Regions from separate parts of the Homo sapiens genome. Here all the other regions are linked to region 2. Evidence: promoter capture Hi-C in 16 types of primary human blood cells and fetal thymus (Javierre and others, 2016). All regions are on one chromosome and are shown on one strand. Each heading gives the region's core, a stretch centred on a gene start or on the middle of the fragment in contact. The rest is flanking DNA. Distances are from core to core; before and after follow the strand shown.

Region 1 (3,626 bases), core at 457-2,956, about 32 Mb after region 2:
ATACACAGAAAAAATATGGCAGAACTATACACCAAAATGTTAAAAACATCTTTCTCTGAGAGTAGGATTACAGAGGGCTTTCATATTATATTAATATGTACTTTTATAATGGTAGGTAATTTTTTTTCAGAAAAAAAGTATTTTTAAAAATATATCATAATACATTGTAAATAAAGTATGGTAATGAAAAACGCATTGTTTTAGGGTCAAGAATAACTTGGAGGAGAGGACATGGAGCCAGTCATTGTCTTTGGAAATGTCTGTAGTGAAAGGAAGCAGTAAGAGGTTAACGGCAATATTGATAGGGCTTTTAGGCTAGAGAGCATTTGGCCTAATTGGAAAGTGATAGATTAAGAAAACAAAGGGAGAAATGTTCAAGAATAGAGTAAGTAGCCGAGTCAGGTAGGAGGAGTTAACATTAAAAATGAAAAACCATAAATCTTTGAAAATAAGAACATATGTGATACCCATTTGAGAAGAAGAAAGTTGGAGTAAGTCAGGTTAGATGACCTTCATTTCAGATAATCAAGGCTTCACTGATAATAAAGAGGTCTAAAGTTCATTTAGGGTCTTGAAAATTATTGAAACATTTTAAAATTAACTTTGTATGATGATGTAAGGCAGGGATCCTCAAACCCTGGGACACAGACTGGTACCCAGCCACGGCCTGGTACCTAACCACCACCTGTTAGAACCTGGGCCGCACAGCAGGAGGTGACTGGCAGGCTGAGGAAGCTTTATCTCTATTCAGGGCGACTCCGCCTGGCTGCCTGAGCTCCACCTCCAGTCAGATCAGCAGTGCCTTGGCCCCTGTTGTGAACTGCACATGCAAGGGATCTAGGTTGCGCTCTCAATGAGAATCTGACTAATGCCTTATGATCCGAGATGAATCAGTTTCATCTCGAAACCATCTTCTCCCCACCCCCCACCCCAGCCTGTGGAAAAATTGTCTTGCACAAAACCGGTCTCTGGTTAAGGCTTGTACTTTCATGTGTTCAAAAATATTAAGTACCTACTATGTGCTAGATGCTGATTTAGGTTTTGGGATTATATGTGAAGACAAAGATGATTATAGTTCATATTCTCAAAAGGGGAGACAGACAATAAATAATAAACTTTAATATTTTAGAAGATGATAAATGCTATGGAAAAAGGACAAGTAGAGCAATAAGATCAGGAGTGCTAAGTGGGGAGAGGTCAGGCTGTAGTTAGGGTTATATTTGAACAACAATTTGAAGGATGCGAAGGGAGTTAGCTAATGAAATTTCTGGGAGAAGTACCTTTGAATTAGAGGAACAGCTGGAACAGGGGCTCTAGGATGTGACCATGCCTGTCACGTTGTTCAAGGAAGCCACTGTGACTGGAGCAGACATAGTGGGAGTGATCTGTGGGAGCAGGAGTGGGAGTGATCATTGGATTTGAAGTCAGAGAAGTCATAGAATCTATATTATGTAGATTATAGTAAGGAACTTAGATTGCTGTCAGTAAAATAGGGAGCCATTGGAGCAAGGGGGTGACCTTGGTATTTCAAAGAATTGCTTTTGCTGTTGTGACTAGACTGAAGGGAGGGAAAGGTAGAAACAGGGAAATCCGTTAAAATATTGTGGTAATTCAGTCCAGAATTGATGGTTGCCTTGACCACAATGGTAGTGGTTAGCGGTGATTAGATTCTTTATATATTTTGAAGGTAGAAGCAAGGATTTCTTACTGTATTTATTCCAGTAGGTTTTGGGGGAACAGGTGGTGTTTAGTTACATGAATAAGTTCTTTAGTCGTGATTTCTGAGATTTTGATGTACCTGTCACCCAAGCAATATACACTGTGCCCATTGTGAAGTCTTTTATCCCTCACCCCCACTCCCAACACTTTCTCCTGAGTCCTCAAAGTCCATTGTATCATTCTTATGCCTTTGGGTCCTCATAGCTTAGCTCCTACTTAGGAGTGAGAACATACGATGTTTGGTTTTTGATTCCTGAGTTACTTCACTTAGAATAATGGTCTCCCATTCCATCTAGGTTGCTGCAAATGCCATTATTTTGTTCCTTTTTATGACTGAGTAGTATTCCATGTTATATATATATATACCATAATTTCTTTATCCACTCATTGATTGATGGGCATTTGGGCTGGTTCCGTATTTTTGCAATTGCAAATTGTGCTGCTATAAACGTGCATGTGCAACTGTCTTTTTTGTATAATGACTTATTGTCCTCTGGGTAGATACTCAGTAGTGGGATTGCTGGATGAAATGGTAGGTCTACTTTTAGTTCTTTAAGGAATCTCCACACTATTTTTCATACTTACTGTACTAGTTTACATTACCACCAGCAGTGTGAAAGTCACTTTCACCACATATTCTGCCAACATCTATTATGTTTTGATTTTTTCATTATGACCATTATTGCAGGAGTAAGGAGGTATTGCCTCATGATTTTGGTTTGCATTTCCATGATCATTAGTGATGTTGAGCAGTTTTTCATGTTTGTTGGCCATTTGTGTATCTTATTTTGAGAATTGTCTATTCATGTCCTTAGCCCATGGGATTGTTTTTTTTCTTGCTGATTTGTTTGGATTCCTTGTAGATTCTGGACATTAGTGGTTTTTTTGGATGTATAGATTGCAAATATTTTCTCCCGCTATGGGTTGTCTGTTTGTTGATTGTTTCTTTTGCTGTGCAGAAGCTTTTTAGTTTAATTAAGTCCCATCTATTTATCTTTGTTTTTGTTGCATTTGCTTTTGGGTTCTTGGTCATGACGTCTTTGCCTAAGCCAATGTCTAGAAGGGTTTTTCTGATGTTATCTTCTAGAATTTTTATGGTTTCAGGTCTTAGATTTAAGTCCTTGATCCATCTTGAGTTGATTTTTGTATAAGGTGAGAGATGAGGATCCAGTTTCATTCTTCTACATGCGACTTGCCAATTATCCCAGCACCATTTGTTGAATAAGGTGTCTTTTCCCTACTTTATGTTTTTGTTTGCTTTCTGGAAGATCAGTTTCCTGTAAGTATTTGGGTTTATTTCTGTGTTCTCTATTCTGTTCCATTGGTCTATGTGCCTATTTTTATACCAGTACCATGCTGTTTTGATGACTATGGCCTTATGGTATAGGCAAACAGGATTTCTTAATGACTTGGATATGGAATGTAGGAAAGAAGCATTAAGGATGATTACAAGATTTTTGACCTGAATAATTGGAAGAATGGAGTTGCTATCAACTGAAATAGAGATGGCTCCTGGTGGAGCACATTTGGGGCTGGGGGAAAGATTAAGTGAAATGTTGAATTTGAAATGTTTGTTAGATATCTATGGGGCGCTATCCATTATTTGAATATGTGTTCCTTGACTTCAGGACAGAAGTCTGTGCTGAAATTATAAATTAGTGAATCATTAGCATACAGATTTAAAGTTCGGATGCTGGATTAAATCACCAACATAATATGTTGAGAGAGAGAGGAAGACCAGGACAAGAGCTCTGGAGCATTCTAACATTAAGAACGTGAGAGAAGGCACAAGTCAAAGAGATGGAGGAGTACAAACCAGCGAGCTAGGAAGAAAACTAAGAATGTATGAAGTCTTGAAGCCAAGTGAATGACATGTATCCAGGAAGGAGTGATTAACTATGTTAAAT
Region 2 (3,866 bases), core at 1,302-3,801:
AATAGGCCTCGGCTCTTTTCTGCAAGTGTCTTTCCTATTTCAGTGCCCCCAGCTTTCATCATCTTGGCCTCAGTTGTTTTCTCTGAAAACAGAAAAATCATGCAATATGAACCTGGAGAAATAAATAAATGATACATATACAGTATAAATAGAATCTTCTTTAAATACTTACCCCGACCACATCGATTACAGCTGGTTCTTCTAGCAAAGTTTACATTTCCACATCTAAAAACAGATTAAAAAGCATTTATAAAAATTTAAATTTGTAAAATTTTACATTTTAACTTGTCCTCACTACATATCTGGAATTCATAACTTCTAATCCATCTTAGTCATGTTAATGTCAATGTTACCAACAAAAAACTCCACACAATTTACTGGGGGAAAAATACTTGATTGGAGCCACAAATTCAGAATAAGATATCCCAATCCTCCATTTACCAGTCATGTGATCTTGATTAAGTTACTTAGGATCTCTGCCTCAAGTCCTCACATTAGCACATATCATTAGTTATAATCCCTTTACAAAGTTGAAAGTGAGAGTTAACTCCACTTCACTAATTACTTACAAGCTACCAGGGAGTTTTAAACCCTAGCGGTGGACCAATGAGGAAAAAAACTTATAAATCAAGGAGGGCTTCATGGATCTTAATGAAATTATCTTTTTACATGCAGTAGGTAGGATGCTAAGGAACCAAATATGATAGGTTGTACTGACTAAAAATACAAAAAGATTCAATAATTGTAAGAAAACTGAGTTTTACAGGGCATTTCTCAAACCTCTGAGACTTCGCTGAAAAAAATGACACAACCACCAAAACCAATAATCTCAACACATGTAGTACAGTAAGACTTTATGCTTATACTCAACAAACTCAAACCTAAAGAATTACTGGTTCACTCACATGACCTTAGAAGTGTACGTGTATATTGGTAAAAGTATGTTAAATGCTCTGGATAACATGGAATGCTTAAACTTTAAAAAGCTGATTTTTAAGGCATTATACTAGAATACAATACAGATGTGAAGTATGGGATGACACTAAAGTGAAACACTCTAAATAATATTTAGGTTAAGTTTTTCCCCTAAAAATATTCCTTTTAACTCCATTAAGCATGGAAAATATACTCTGAAAATTTATCCTGCATTTAAACATATTGTACAAACAACATTCTATTCATATATTTGTAAATGAGTTGAAATGAACTCTCATTGAGAGTCCTACCTCTGGGTGTGCTGTCATTAAAGACACTGACAAAAGCACATTATTTTACAGGTAACAACAAAGTCAGAAGTTGTTGTTCTAAATCTTTTGAACGTTTTCAATAATGTCTTACCACTCAGAGCAATACTATCCATAACATATAACTTTGGTTCTATTCAGTATCATTTGTTAGGCTTGAACTACTCCTTCAGGTCATCTTAATATCAAATTACTATCAATAGCCACCAATTAGAATTTGCTACACGTCACTGTTTACACACCCTATCCATGTTATTTCATGTTTTCATTAAAAAAAAAATTCTATTCCTTTTTTAGCAGTTAAATAAGTAATAGAATTTTAACTAAACCCAGGTTTATTTCAAAGTTTTTGCTTTTTACAATCAAAACCTATTTGTGGCTAACTTAGGTACAACAAATAAAAGGCTTTTATGTGAACATGAGTTGTACATTAAATTATTTTCCATGTTATTTCCGAATAGATACACCTATTTGTGCACCCTTCAAAAAAAATCTGATTAACTATCTAGTCGAGTACTGGCTTTGGCAACAATGTCAAAAAGCAGAGCCACTAACACACGTGCTTCTCTGCTGCAGGCATCTTAAGGGCTGAGTAGGCAAAAACACAGGCCTCTTCCCTCCTTTTCGGCTCTAAGGAGGCGAAAAGCCCAATTCTTGTGGAGAAATGATCCACAAAGAAAATGTCAGAATTTCCCAAACCGAAGAGGGTAGAGCTTCCGGAAAAGGGGAAAATAGTATGGAGGAAAAGTTTGAGTAAAAATACAAAACAAGGTGAACTATAAGAGGCAAAAGGACGAGTGCGAGAAAGCAATATTTTCCGTGAACAAGAGTAAAGTTCTGCAGAGAAAAGTCACGTGGGGGAGATCCAACACCAAGCTGGCCTGACTGGAGAGGTTTCCTATCGCTAAAACCTGGCCGGGGCGGGGGAGGGGGGTGGGGGCAAAAAGGTAGGCCATCTCGCACTCTAAAAAGAGAGGCTACCTTGCGGAGGTAATGTCGAGGAAACGCTGAAGACATATCTAGAACAAAGGCTCCCGGAAAGACCTCTCTCGTGAGGAGATTGGGAGCCTTCTTCCCGCCAGGGAACTGGCGGTTCGCCGCCTCAACCCGTCTTAAGGCACAGAAAATCATAAAAAAGGAAAATGCCGGACGGACCTCGGAAAGCTTCCACTAACAAACTCCGTCCCAATTCAGGACCCTTCTTGAACTCACTTTTTGTCAGGGCAAATCCAGTCCCCGTCACTGACTCGGAAATTCTTGGTCGACATCTTGAACGCCACCAGCACAGCCACCCGCAGCTATGTCTTCACAGGAGGAAAACGGGCCGGGGACTTTCGGCAACTCGGGGCTGTCCCCACACTGCCTGACTCGCGCCTACTACTGTGTCAGGGTTTGATAATGAGGGAACTAGCCAGGAATTCAGCTTGTACGTTGTTGTCCAGACTAAGATGCCTGTGCTACTGTTTGTTAGATGGAAAAGTTAAAATACAAATATCTTTTCTAGAACTAAACTCACAGGCGCCATAAGGACAACCCAGGCAGGAGGCCTTCGTGGCACTAGAAGCCTCGGAGAGCCCCCTACAGGTGGGAGGACCCAAGAGTAAAGTACTTCCGCTTCCTTAGGTGGAGCTGGAAAGGTGGAGGCGGAAGTGACTGATCAATTCAGGGGCGTGGGGTTCGTTTAGGGTAAGAGGCGGCTCGGGCTCTTCAAGTGTTTAGAGAAATTATTTTAATAAGGCATAAAAATTCTGTTATTTCATACACATGGGATGTCGTTTGGAAACCTATTTTTATATATACATAAATAGGTGTAACAGATAAGTAAGCAACTTATACATGGGAACCAGCTGGTAATTTTAAAACTGAGACATTGTCAACACTGTTTAAATTACCAGTGTCTTTTCTGATACCATCCCATTACTTTCTTCCACAGATAACACTTTCCCATATTTGGGATTTATTCTTTTGCTTTTTAAAAATTTATGTACGTTGTTAGTCCAAACTGCACCATTTTTGTAAGCCCCCCTGCCATTTTGCAGACCTTAGTCAAAGTGAAACATTCCACGGGGTTCGGGCGTGAGAAACAGGCTGCCTCTTATACTCTGCTGGGAGAAAGTACCACATTCCACTGGAACAAGGGCCAGAGCCGCCTCGTCCTGGGAACACCTTATCAACATGTTCCCAGGAAGCAGGCCATGGCCCCCCAGACCACTCCCACCCAGGCCTATAAATCACCCCAGCCTGTAAGAAGCAACGGGCACTGGCATTAAGCTGGTCTCCCACCTCTGTAGGTCTTATGCTGGACATAAATCCTGTATTTGTTGTTAAGCCACCCTCTCTTTCTTTAATCCTTGCCTTCCCTTCAAAACCTAACATACATGTATGTTTAATTTTATGAGCTGTGTAAGCATAGTTGATTCTGTACTCTTTTTTTGTTCATTATGCTTCTAAATTAATCCTAGGTAGTTGCATGTAGAAGTGTATAGGTGTAATTCTTTTATTTGCACTGATGTATACTGATACTATTCCGTTTTGTGGTTTTGTGACAGTTTATTCCTTCTGTTTCTCAGGCTTGGTATTACAAACAACACCAGTATGAGCATTCTTATGCATAGATTCTGG
Region 3 (3,935 bases), core at 778-3,277, about 48 Mb after region 2:
GCTTCCCCTTCTGTTTGGTCAAATCCCTGTGGGAGAGAGTAGCATTCCTGTCGTGGGTAAAATAATTTCTATGGAAAATTTTCAAAATGCAATTTCTATAAACATTATGTGAAGATATGATTTATTTCTGGATTCAGTCCTTGTGCTTGCATCATCTTCCAATTTATCATCAAGTTCTCTGTGTGCCAGTTCTGTTTTTAAGGATCTGTTCATATCAGTTGTAATCTGAGAGGGTAAACTTCCACTAGGAGGATTGAAGCAAAAAAACAAGAAAATGTGTCCCAGAAGGCAGTGGGTGCACTGAAAAGAAGATGGGACTTTATTCCCAGTTCTAACACTGCTATAGCAAGTAAAGTGACATTGGAAAGTCCTTAACTTTTCCACCTTTTTTTTTTTATTAGACAGAGTCTCACTCTGTTGCCCAGGCTGGAGTGCAGTGGAGTGATCTGGGCTCACTGCAACCTCTGCCTCCTGGGTTCAAGTGATTCTCCTGCCTCAGCCTCCTGAGTAGCTGGGATTACAGGTGCCCACCACCACACCCAGCTGATTTTTGTATTTTTAGTAGAGATGAGGTTTCACCATGTTGGGCAGGCTGGTCTCGAACTCTTGACCTCAGGCGATCCACCCACCTCAGCCTCCCAAAGTGCTGGGATTACAGGCATGAGTCACCACGCCCAGCCAAGTCCCCTATTTTTAAAAATATTAGCCACTAGATAATTCAGTATGAGTCCACACAACCACTGACAGTGAAAACAGGGACATACTTCTTGGGGCCTTTCTCCTGGTCTGCATGCACAACCCCACCACAGGAGTAAGAGGCGGGGGTACACTTACCACTTACGTTGTCACGGCTAGTTATCACCTCAGTAAAAACAAGACTACCATGCCTAGTGCACAGAAGGTCACAGGACACAGGGCTGTGGTTTCTCCTCAAAGAGTGACATTCGTTTAGAACTTAGTTCATCCCTCTTATCCCAGACTGCTTGAGAATTAAGGAGGGAAGGAAAAGAAGAGGGTCTCTAGCTCTGATCTTTACTGTGTTGGGAAGATCCCCACTCTAATCCTGTTGCCACTCCTTTTTTTTTTTAAGACAATAATAAGGTCTCCTTTTCTAGAACACTCAGCTCATAAGTTTTTAGACCTGTCCTTGGTGGCCGGACGCGGTGGCTCACGCCTGTAATCCCAACACTTTGGGAGGCCAAGGCAGGCGGATCACGAGGTCAGGAGATCGAGACCATCCTGGCTAACATGGTGAAACCCTGACTCTATTAAAAATAACAAAAATTAGCCGGGCATGGTGGCAGGCACCTGTAGTCCCAGCTACTCGGGAGGCTGAGGCAGGAGAATGGTGTGAACCCAGGAGGTGGAGGTTGCAGTGAGCCGAGATCGTGCCACTGCACTCCAGCCTGGGAGACAGATCGAGACTCCGTCTCAAAAAAAAAAGTTTTTAGACCTGTCCAACTGACATTTAACACCATGAGATGGTGAACTTGGGGAAGACATGAGACTAGTAACACACACACACAGATTTTCAAGAGCTTGACATTCCATTATTTACTCACCTAGCAAATACTTATTGGGTGTCTTTTGTGCCAGGCACTGTACTAAATGCACAGAGCTGAATAGGATACCATCTGTGCTCGTCAAGATCTCCGTTTAATGAAGGAGAAGGCAAACAACAAACAGAATTTCAAGACATAAGATGTTGGCTGTGGGTTTGTCAAAAAAAAAAAAAAAGAAGAAGAAAATTCAAGAGAAACATCTTTGTATCAGGAAGCCCTTGTGATTTCCTTAGAATCACACTTTGTCAGCAATCCTAGCCTCACTGCTTGCTGTTCGTATAACCTTGGACAGGCTTCCTAAGAGTTCTGGACCTCAGTGTCCTCATCTGAAAATGGGGGCAAAGAATAAGCTCCCAAAGTTTCCTTACTGCTCTAAGATGAGTACTGAGCTCAATCTTGAAGGAGTGTCTGTATAGAATTTTGAATTGGAAAGAGGAGCAGGGTGCCCTTAGGAGAGAGAACTGCATGAAGAAAGCAAGGATATGCAAATGAATAGAGCATAAAGAAAGGTGAGAGTAAAGAGAATAAGGTACCGACACATCTCCCTGCTTCCTCCTTCACCCGCTTACGTGTATTTTCAATCAGCCATCAGAGTGACCTATTAAAATGTATGTCAGCTCATGGTCACTACTCTGCCCAAAACCCTCCAGTGACTTTCCATGTCATTTGGAAAAAATCCAAAGTTCTCAAAACCTATAAGACCTAAGTGACCTGCATCCCCCATCCCAACCTCTCTTTCTGGCCCTTTCCCCATTAACTTCCCCCTGCTTTGCTTTACTCCAGACATGCTGGTCTCCTCACCAATGCTCACCAGTTACCACCTAAAACATTTTACTTTATTTTCTCCGCCTCTAGAACATAAGCAGCATGGGAGCATAGCCTTTTGTCTGCTTTATTATGCATCCTCAAAGTTCAGAATGTGCATGTCTAGTAACATATTTGTTAAATGCATTTTCTTATTTACAAGTAAGGAAACTAAGATCAAAGAGAATGCAAATGAAGTCACACTGCTCTTTAGGAGAGGGTGGACCAGTATGTGCACAGATTTTCTGTTTCTCTGCCCCAAAGGTAGATAGAATGATGGGCCCTGAAGATGGCTATATGGCAGAAGGAACTTTGCAGATGTGATTAAGAATCTTGAGATGAGAATATTATCCTGGTTTATTCTGTTTAGTCCAATGTAATCATAGAGGTTTTTCTAACAGGGGAGCAGGAGAGTCAGTCTAAGAAGGAAATGTGATGATGGAAACAGAGGTTGGAAGATGGAAGAGGACCCAGAGTCAAGGAATGCAGGTAGAAAAGAAAAGCCTGGATTCTCCCCTAAAGCCTCCAGATGGAACACAGCCCTGCCTCCACCTTGATTTCAGGACTTCTTACCCCAAGAATCGTAAGCTAATACATTTGTTTTTGTTTTTGTTTTTGTTTTCTTTGAGATGGAGTCTTGCTCTGCTGCCCAGGCTGGAGTGCAGTGGACTGATCTTGGCTCACTGCAGCGTCCATCTTCCGGGTTCAAGCGATTCTCCTGCTTCAGCCTCTCAAGTAGCTGGGATTACAGGCGCCCACCACACCCGGCTAATTTTTTTTTTTTTTAATACTTTAAGTTTTAGGTTACATGTGCACAACGTGCAGGTTTGTTACATATGTATACATGTGCCATGTTGGTGTGCTGCACCCATTAACTCGTCATTTAGCATTAGGTATCTCTCCTAATGCTATCCCTCCCCCCTCCCCCCACCCCACAACCGTCCCCAGTGTGTGATGTTCCCCTTCCTGTGTCCATGTGTTCTCATTGTTCAATTCCCACCTATGAGTGAGAACATGCGGTGATTGGTTTTTTCTCCTTGCAATAGTTTGCTGAGAATGATGGTTTCCAGCTTCATTCATGTCCCTACAAAGGACATGAACTCATCATTTTTTATGGCTGCATGGTATTCCATGGTGTATATGTGCCACGTTTTCTTAATCCAGTCTATCATTGTTGAATATTTGGGTTGTTTCCAAGTCTTTCCTATTGTGAATAATGCCACAATAAACATACGTGTGCATGTGTCTTTATAGCAGCATGATTTATAATCCTTTGGGTATATACCCAGTAATGGGATGGCTGGGTCAAATGGTATTTCTAGTTCTAGATCCCTGAGGAATTGCCACACTGACTTCCACAATGGTTGAACTAGTTTACAGTCCCACCAACAGTGTAAAAGTGTTCCTATTTCTCCACATCCTCTCCAGGACCTGTTGTTTCCTGACTTTTTAATGATCACCATTCTAACTGGTGTAAGATGGTATCTCATTGTGGTTTTGATTTGCATTTCTCTGATGGCCAGTGATGATGAGCATTTTTTCATGTGTTTTTTGGCTGCATAAATGTCT
Region 4 (3,556 bases), core at 988-3,487, about 24 Mb after region 2:
TGGCCAACATGGCGAAACCCCATCTCTACTAAAAATACAAAAATTAGCTGGGCATGGTGGCACACGCCTGTGATCCTTGCTACTCGGGAGGCTGAGGCAGGAGAATCACTTGAACCCGGGAGGCGGAGGTTGCAGTGAGCCAAGATCTCACCATTCATTGCACTGCAGCCTGGGTAACAAGAGTGAAACTCTGTCTCAGAAAAAAAAAAAAAAAGTAGTCTAAAAATGGGCTGGATGTTGTGAGAAAACCATTTAAGATTAAGATCCTTCATGATATCCATTGGGTGTGTTATTCACTGAAGGACAGGGAGTTGACTTCCATTTATTCCTTCTTGCATTCATCCACTCACATCCACTCATTGGGCACTGTTATGTTCCAGGCACTATGCACCTATTAGTGTAATGGAGTTGCTTTCTTTTTAGTGCCCAGCCTGACTTGTATCTTTTGAAACAATTGTTTAAAATCCATATGAAGGGGTTTACTCACTTTTAGTGTTTTCTTGTCATCCCTCTTCTGATTGGATAATTCTTCACCATCTCCCTCTCTGTCTCCACTGTTCTCTTTATTGATAATTACTTCTGCCTGAGGCAGCTATTTGAAGAGATCATCAGTTTTCCTAAATTCCTTTATTATGGCTCAGTTGGGAATATCCTGGAAAAATGAACCTGCAATTTCCCATCACACCTTAAAGAACTGGTAATGGTCTGGGTCATTAGTACACAGCTGAGCATAAAACACTGCTGAAGGGTCAGAGAAAACCCAAAAATGTAAGCATAGAAAGAAAACAGTTTCTTAATCTTGAGAACACTGTGAACCCTTTATCTGCTGTTAAATTGAGCATGACTTTCAAGCCATGCCTCCTAATTAGTTTAATTCCATGTTCTGGCATCAATAAGTAATTGAATTATAAAAGAATTCAGTGTAACAACTTAGGACATTTTGTTGCTGAGAGGTAGAATAATTCAGTGATTGAAATGGGGATGTTTGATGTTCACAAGTGGGAATTAAGGGGGTAAGGTAAAGGCCTTTTTTTTTTTTCCCATGATTTTCGTAACATCTTTTTACAAAGTAAGGACTTCTTTAACAGACCACAGTAAACATGCAGCAGACTGCTGGCTACCACTCACCATCACTGTCAGTTTGGGTTGGAGGATACACACTTGATACCAGAACACTCTAAACACTAGTTCTTTTCTGGCCTCCCCCAAATAAGGTTCTCCCTTTTGCCACTGGAATCAGGAGAATGTTGCAGAGGAATTGCATTCCTGGTAACAAGATAACCCAGCAAGACTCAGACTGCTAACCCAAGGATCAACTATTAAGGCCGTAAGATTGAAGAAGCTAAATAATTGGATTCCATTTAGCTGGACTAATTTTATGCTGAGAATTTCAGGGGATTTTATCTGCCTTTTGATCTCTTTACAATGGTTATAGTAAGCTTCTAGTAAGAGGCATAACCATCTCTTAGGGGTGCAAATTAAGTAAGTCCCTACACTCCCATCTACAAGGGAGGGCTGTGGATAGACCACATTAGGGATATTCTGTTTTTCTGTATGCATTGTAGTCAGTCCAGGTGCCAGATTTGATGGGGTGACCTGCCATGTACGTGATACTTGAAATGCATCTTACTTGATGAGGGGTACTATTGGTCTTACTTCACAGAGAAGATAACTGATACTCAGACTGGTTAAATAACCACCAGGCTCCAGGTGTATGGGCCTTTGCACTGCATCATGCTCCTTAATAGAGAGATGGGGCTGTTGCATCAGGAAAATAGTTCTTGGAAAGCAAGGAAATACTTGTGCAGAAAGAGCGATAATGAGCACCCAGAGAAAAGATATGAGTGTGAGCCAACTTATGTTCAGAACAATCCCAAAGGGGAGTGTTTGTGCATGTATGTGTGGATCTATGAGAGGCGTGAGATTGGTATTGTATCACCATTTTCCTGATGAGGAAATTGAGTGACACAGATTATGTGGCCATAGTCAATGTTCGTTATATGTGGGAGTTGTGCTTCTGGAAAGAATCTTACAGATAAAAAAGTTGTAAGATGGGAGAACCCAATATCATGTAATAGGTTTTCACAGAAGCTGCAGAGTGAATTTTTGTATTTTAGCAACACTAATGTTCAAATTAGTTTGGGCCTTCTTATAAAATGAATCATGACTGTCACACATTGACCCCTCTAAATCTGCTCAGCTCGGTTTTATGCTGATTGTCAGTATTGAGCTGACTTCTATAAAACCGATGAGATTGCTACTTTTAGCTTCATTTATTTTTAGTTTTTTTTTTTTTCTTCTGAAGCTACATTGAAACTTATGTAAAAATCCAACTGAAGCATAAAACAAGCACTGGTGTATGCTTGCCTGGGAGCTGCCTGGGAGCAAGAGGAGACAGTCTTGTCTTACCAAGTATGAGAGGGTGCTGAAGGTTTCTTGGTGGTTTTCTTCAAAGTTGTATCTTGAGGATATATAACAATTGCAAAGAAAAAAAACACAAGTGTAGGGAAGGTCAGATGTATATGGTATGTAAACAATTTCTTAATGGGCTCTTAGTGAATCCTGAAAAACCCATTCTCTTAAATTTTACCTTTTTTTAAAAATGTCTTCTGTTATTTGACTGCATTTATAGAGTTTCTGTTGTGTGTTGTATTTTATTAAGTAGAATGAAACCTTAAAAATAGCATTAGTGTGAATTTGGAGTTCTAAAAGTTTAAGTTTCTCTAGTTTGAATTTCTGTTTGGAATGTGTTTAGGAGCTTACTTTCTGATGTTTGTAAGGAAGCATAAGGTTTGAAACCTGTTTCAGTTTGTGTTTTAGGTATGAAAATGATACACTTACTATAAGACAGAATGATTTGGTTAGAAACAACAAGTAGTCAATTTGTATCAACTTGAACAAGAGGGCAAGACCCTTTTGGTAGGGTCTTTAGAATACATGAAAACACCCTTGGACTTATGGAGATTTTAGTTTTCTGGGGCAAGCCTTAAGTTTTCTAGGGCATAGATGTTTGTTGAGAATGATCAGTTTGTGAATTAAGCTTATTAACTAAGGTTCTGGGGGGCTAAGGAGGGGCAGAGATTAGTATTAGATTTAGAGCATAATTATTTTTCTGCTAATCACTGTTTCTAAGCTGTTAATAACCTTAAAGCAGATAGGGGCAACTTTGTTTTCTTTTTTATTATGGCAAAAAAAGAAAACAAAAAATCAGACTTACAGTGCATGTGTCATATGAAAAATTCTGAGGCAGAAAGGAGCCAGTTTAATTGCTTGTACAATGTCAAGCAGATGAGATATGGAAGAGTACAATACATACTTCTAGAGTTTTTGGGAGAAAATGAGTTTTTAAAAGTATGTAATTTTATTGCCACATTAAATACCAGAAGAATGGAGTATGTTATTGGGCTTTTCAGTTTCTTGTAGAGATGACAGTATCATTTTGTATAATCTTATTTTGCAGCTACAGTGTATGTGTGGGTGGGCAGGGGGATTTACCAAGACCAATTAGGAAGAATGCTAATCCTTTCCAATTCTTAAAAGAACTAAGGCAGTTTTC
Region 5 (3,467 bases), core at 287-2,786, about 36 Mb after region 2:
CAAATGTCTTCTTTTGAGAAGTGTGTGTTCATGTCCTTTGCCCACTTTTTAATGGGGTTGTTTATTTATTCTTGTAAATTTGTTTAAGTTCTTGGTAGAAGCCAAATATTAGACCTTTGTCAGATGGATAGATTGCAAAATTTTTCTCCTATTCTGTAGGGTGCCTGTTCACTCTGATGATAGTTTCTTTTGCTTTGCAGAAGCTCTTTAGTTTAATTAGATCTCATTTGTCAATTTTTGCTTTTGTTGCAATTGCTTTTGATGTTTTTGTCATGAAGTCTTTGCCTGTGCCTATGTCCTGAATGGTATTGCCTACATTTTCTTCTAGGGTTTTTATAGTTTTGGGTTTGACATTTAAGTCTTTAATCCATCTTGAGTTAATATTTGTAGAAGGTATAAGTAAGGGATCCAGTTTCAATTTTCACTTTTTCAATATGACTAGTCAATTTTGCCAGCACAATTCATTAAATAGGGAATCCTTTTCCCATTGCTTCTTTTCATCAGGTTTGTTGAATGTCAGATGGTTGCAGATGTGTGGCCTTATTTGTAAGATCTCTATTCTGTTCTATTGGTCTATGTGTCTGTTTTTATACCAGTACCATGCTTTTTTTGTTTACTGTAGCCTTGTAGTAAGTATAGTTTGAAGTTGAGTAGCATGATGCCTCCAGCTTTGTTTTTTGCTTAGGATTGTCTTGGCTATATGGGCTCTTTTTTGGTTCTGTATGATTTTTAAAGTAGTTTTTTCTAATTCTGTGAAGAATGTCAATGGTAGTTTAATGGGAATAGCATTGAATCTCAAATTACTTTGGCGCAGTATGGTCATTTTCACAATAGTGATTCTTCCTATCCATGAAAATGGAATGTTTTTCCATTTGTTTGTGTCCTCTCCTATTTCCTTGGGCAGTGGTTTGTAGTTCTCCTTGAAGAGGTCCTTCGCTTCCCTTCTTAGCTATATTCCTAGGTATTTTATTCTCTTTGTAGCAGATGTGAATGGGAGTTCATTTATGATTTGACTCTGCTTGTCTATTGTTGGTGTATAGGAATGCCTGTGCTTTTTGCACATTGATTTTGTATCCTGAGACTTTGCTGAAGTTGCTTATCTTAAGGAGGTTTTGGGCAGAGACTATGGGGTTTTCTAGATATAGGTTCATGTCGTCTGTGGTACATATACACCATGGAATACTATGCAGCCATAAAAAGGAAAGAGATCATGTCCTTTGCAGGGAAATGGATGGAGATAGAAGCCATTATCCTCAACAAACTAATACAGGAACAGAAAACCAAACGTCACATGTTCTCACTTATAATTGGAAGTTAACAATGAGAACACAGGGACACAGGGAGGGGAACAACACACACTGGGGCCTTTCAGAGGAACAGGGGGAGGGAGAGCATCAGGATAAATAGCTAATGCTTGTGGGCCTTAATACCTAGGTGATGGGTTGATAGGTGCAGCAAACCACCACAACACATGTTTACCTATGTAACAAACCTGCACATCCTGCACATGTATCCTGGAACTTAATATAAAATTAAATTAAATTTAAAAGAAATCATATGTACTTCATAATTATATACACCTAATATGTACCCATAAAAGTTAGAAAATAAAAAAGCATGACACAGCAAAAAAAAGCCAATAGCTGGCTTTCTTTCATGTTAAAGGTTTGCACAAAAGAATAAAAAAGAGACAGAAGTTCTATTAAATGATATTCATTAGGCTTAATATCTGAATTTCATTAAGCTACCCGATTCTCATTATGCCTTAGGTAGGTAAGCAGGTGTACATTTCCATGGATGCACTGAGACATAACTTTTCCCCACATTATAATTTACATTCACATTTTTCTTTACTATTTTTATTATGGTTGGCCTGATTTATAGTAGAAATTGTTAAAATGTCATAATCAATATTTATACCTGAAGTTGTTACAGTTCAATATTCTGTATTTTAAGAGGGCTCAATAAATAGAAACTGAATTGATAATTATTAATTAAGTGTATAATATCCTTGTTTATACTACCTAAACAATTCAATACAAACTTTTCTTAAAGAATTACACCCACTCATAATAATATCATCAAGAAGCTGTGAATTTGCTATTCATCTGTTTCAGTATGGGGTTTAATAGCTGGGCCAATACACCACGGATCTAAAAGACACTATACATATCAAGATAATAACATATACCTAGGCTTTCTATGTTTGATGTTCCAATTTGTTTAGACATAAAAGTCACCACTTGTGTCTTTATTTTATATAAATTTTTTTTAACAGTAGTACTTCTTTCTATGCTGGCAGCTTCCAAGTAACTGCAGAATGGCAAGAACTACATCATTTAACGAATATTCATATCAAAGAGACAGTTATAACATTTTTCATGCCATTGCTCCTTTACCCTTCCTCAACACACTTTGAGAATTACAGTGAATTTTTGAAATCCTGAAAGAACTATCTTCAATCCTTACACTAGGCTTTAAAAAATATTTTTAAATAATATACCTTTGAATTAAAAAGGGAAAGAAATTTAGAAATAAATATTTGTGGGAGAATATCACATCAGCACATCCAAGATAAAATAATACATGAGAGTTGAGACTTAAAAGTGGTATAATAAATTGCTAGTAAAAAAGCATAATAATAATAGATAACATAACATTAACACAAAAATATAAGTTCCTCAGAGATAAGAATGTTTGCTTTTTGTTTACTTTATTCCTTATTTCTAGAATGATAAAAGTCCAGAATGCCTGTTGAATAAATGAATGGTTGAACAAATAAATGAGTGTGTTTGATACAGAAAAGAGATCATGATTCTCCCAGTCATCCAAAGCACATCTGTGAACCTCAGTATACTTGGGAGCAACAATCTGGAATATGGAAAGGTCCAGATTCCAGCACAATGCACTAGGTTCTCAGCATAAAAATGAAAAATACAAAATCTTGGTGTTCAAATGTCCACAGTCCAAAGCCAGATATATAAATAGTTCTGATACAATGATACAAGTGCAAAAAGAGTTATATGTATTAAAGGGCCATAGACTGGCTGAAAAAACATCATTTGAGCATTAGCTAAAAAGATGAGTGAGAGGAGGGAAGAGTAGAGGCACGCAAAGCAAAAGTACAGAAGTCCCAAAATTCATAGTGTTTTTGGAGAACAGTAAGCTGTATATTTCAAACTTTTAACCATAACCTGAAGCAAGAAATATACATACAGTACTTTTTTTAGACGGAGTCTCGCTCTTTCACCAGGCTGGAGTGCAGTGGCACAATCTCTGCTCACTGCAACGTCTGCCTTCCGGGTTCAAGCGATTCTCCTGCCTCAGCTTCCTGAGTAGCTGGGACTACAGGCGCGTGCCACCATGCCCAGCTAATTTTTGTATTTTTAGTAGAGACAGGGTTTCACCATGTTGGCCAGGATGGTCTCGAACTTCTGACCTCGTGATCTGCCTGCCTCGGCCTCCCA

What was found. Contacts are between HindIII fragments. The CHiCAGO score rates a contact against its expected background, and 5 or more counts as called.
Region 1: a fragment that was not itself captured here is called in contact with the fragment with the promoter of ZRANB2 in region 2 in 4 of 17 cell types (total CD4 T cells, total CD8 T cells, activated CD4 T cells and 1 more); the score reaches 9.3 in total CD4 T cells.
Region 3: a fragment that was not itself captured here is called in contact with the fragment with the promoter of ZRANB2 in region 2 in 1 of 17 cell types (total CD4 T cells); the score reaches 5.9 in total CD4 T cells.
Region 4: a contact is called between a fragment that was not itself captured here and the fragment with the promoter of ZRANB2 in region 2, in 3 of 17 cell types (total CD4 T cells, activated CD4 T cells and naive CD4 T cells). The highest score is 8.1, in total CD4 T cells.
Region 5: a fragment that was not itself captured here is called in contact with the fragment with the promoter of ZRANB2 in region 2 in 1 of 17 cell types (non-activated CD4 T cells); the score reaches 5.1 in non-activated CD4 T cells.

Annotation. Positions count from the first base shown.
Region 1 is chr1:103,529,139-103,532,764 of GRCh38, forward strand. The region is part of intron 2 of RNPC3 (RNA binding region (RNP1, RRM) containing 3); the gene reads left to right. Among named protein-coding and RNA genes, the nearest start is that of RNPC3, 5.3 kb to the left of the region's middle. The HindIII fragment of the contact is 1,946 bases long and covers 734-2,679 here.
Region 2 is chr1:71,078,484-71,082,349 of GRCh38, forward strand. It overlaps ZRANB2 (zinc finger RANBP2-type containing 2), which reads right to left and starts at 2,552. Exons shown (of 10, transcript NM_203350.3): 1 at 2,457-2,552; 2 at 173-225; 3 at 1-82. The coding sequence starts at 2,512. It overlaps ZRANB2-DT (ZRANB2 divergent transcript), which reads left to right and starts at 2,841. Exons shown (of 4, transcript NR_046217.1): 1 at 2,841-2,930. RefSeq lists an enhancer at 2,502-2,791. The HindIII fragment of the contact is 3,322 bases long and covers 2,407-3,866 here.
Region 3 is chr1:119,147,798-119,151,732 of GRCh38, forward strand. It overlaps WARS2-AS1 (WARS2 antisense RNA 1), which reads left to right. Exons shown (of 7, transcript NR_125975.1): 4 at 2,768-2,949. Among named protein-coding and RNA genes, the nearest start is that of WARS2, 9.1 kb to the left of the region's middle. The HindIII fragment of the contact is 7,646 bases long and covers 1-3,935 here.
Region 4 is chr1:95,236,134-95,239,689 of GRCh38, forward strand. All of the region lies in intron 7 of TLCD4-RWDD3 (TLCD4-RWDD3 readthrough), which reads left to right. All of the region lies in intron 1 of RWDD3 (RWD domain containing 3), which reads left to right. Among named protein-coding and RNA genes, the nearest start is that of RWDD3, 3.7 kb to the left of the region's middle. The HindIII fragment of the contact is 1,601 bases long and covers 1,438-3,038 here.
Region 5 is chr1:107,049,838-107,053,304 of GRCh38, forward strand. No RefSeq gene overlaps it. Among named protein-coding and RNA genes, the nearest start is that of PRMT6, 5.1 kb to the right of the region's middle. The HindIII fragment of the contact is 6,068 bases long and covers 1-3,467 here.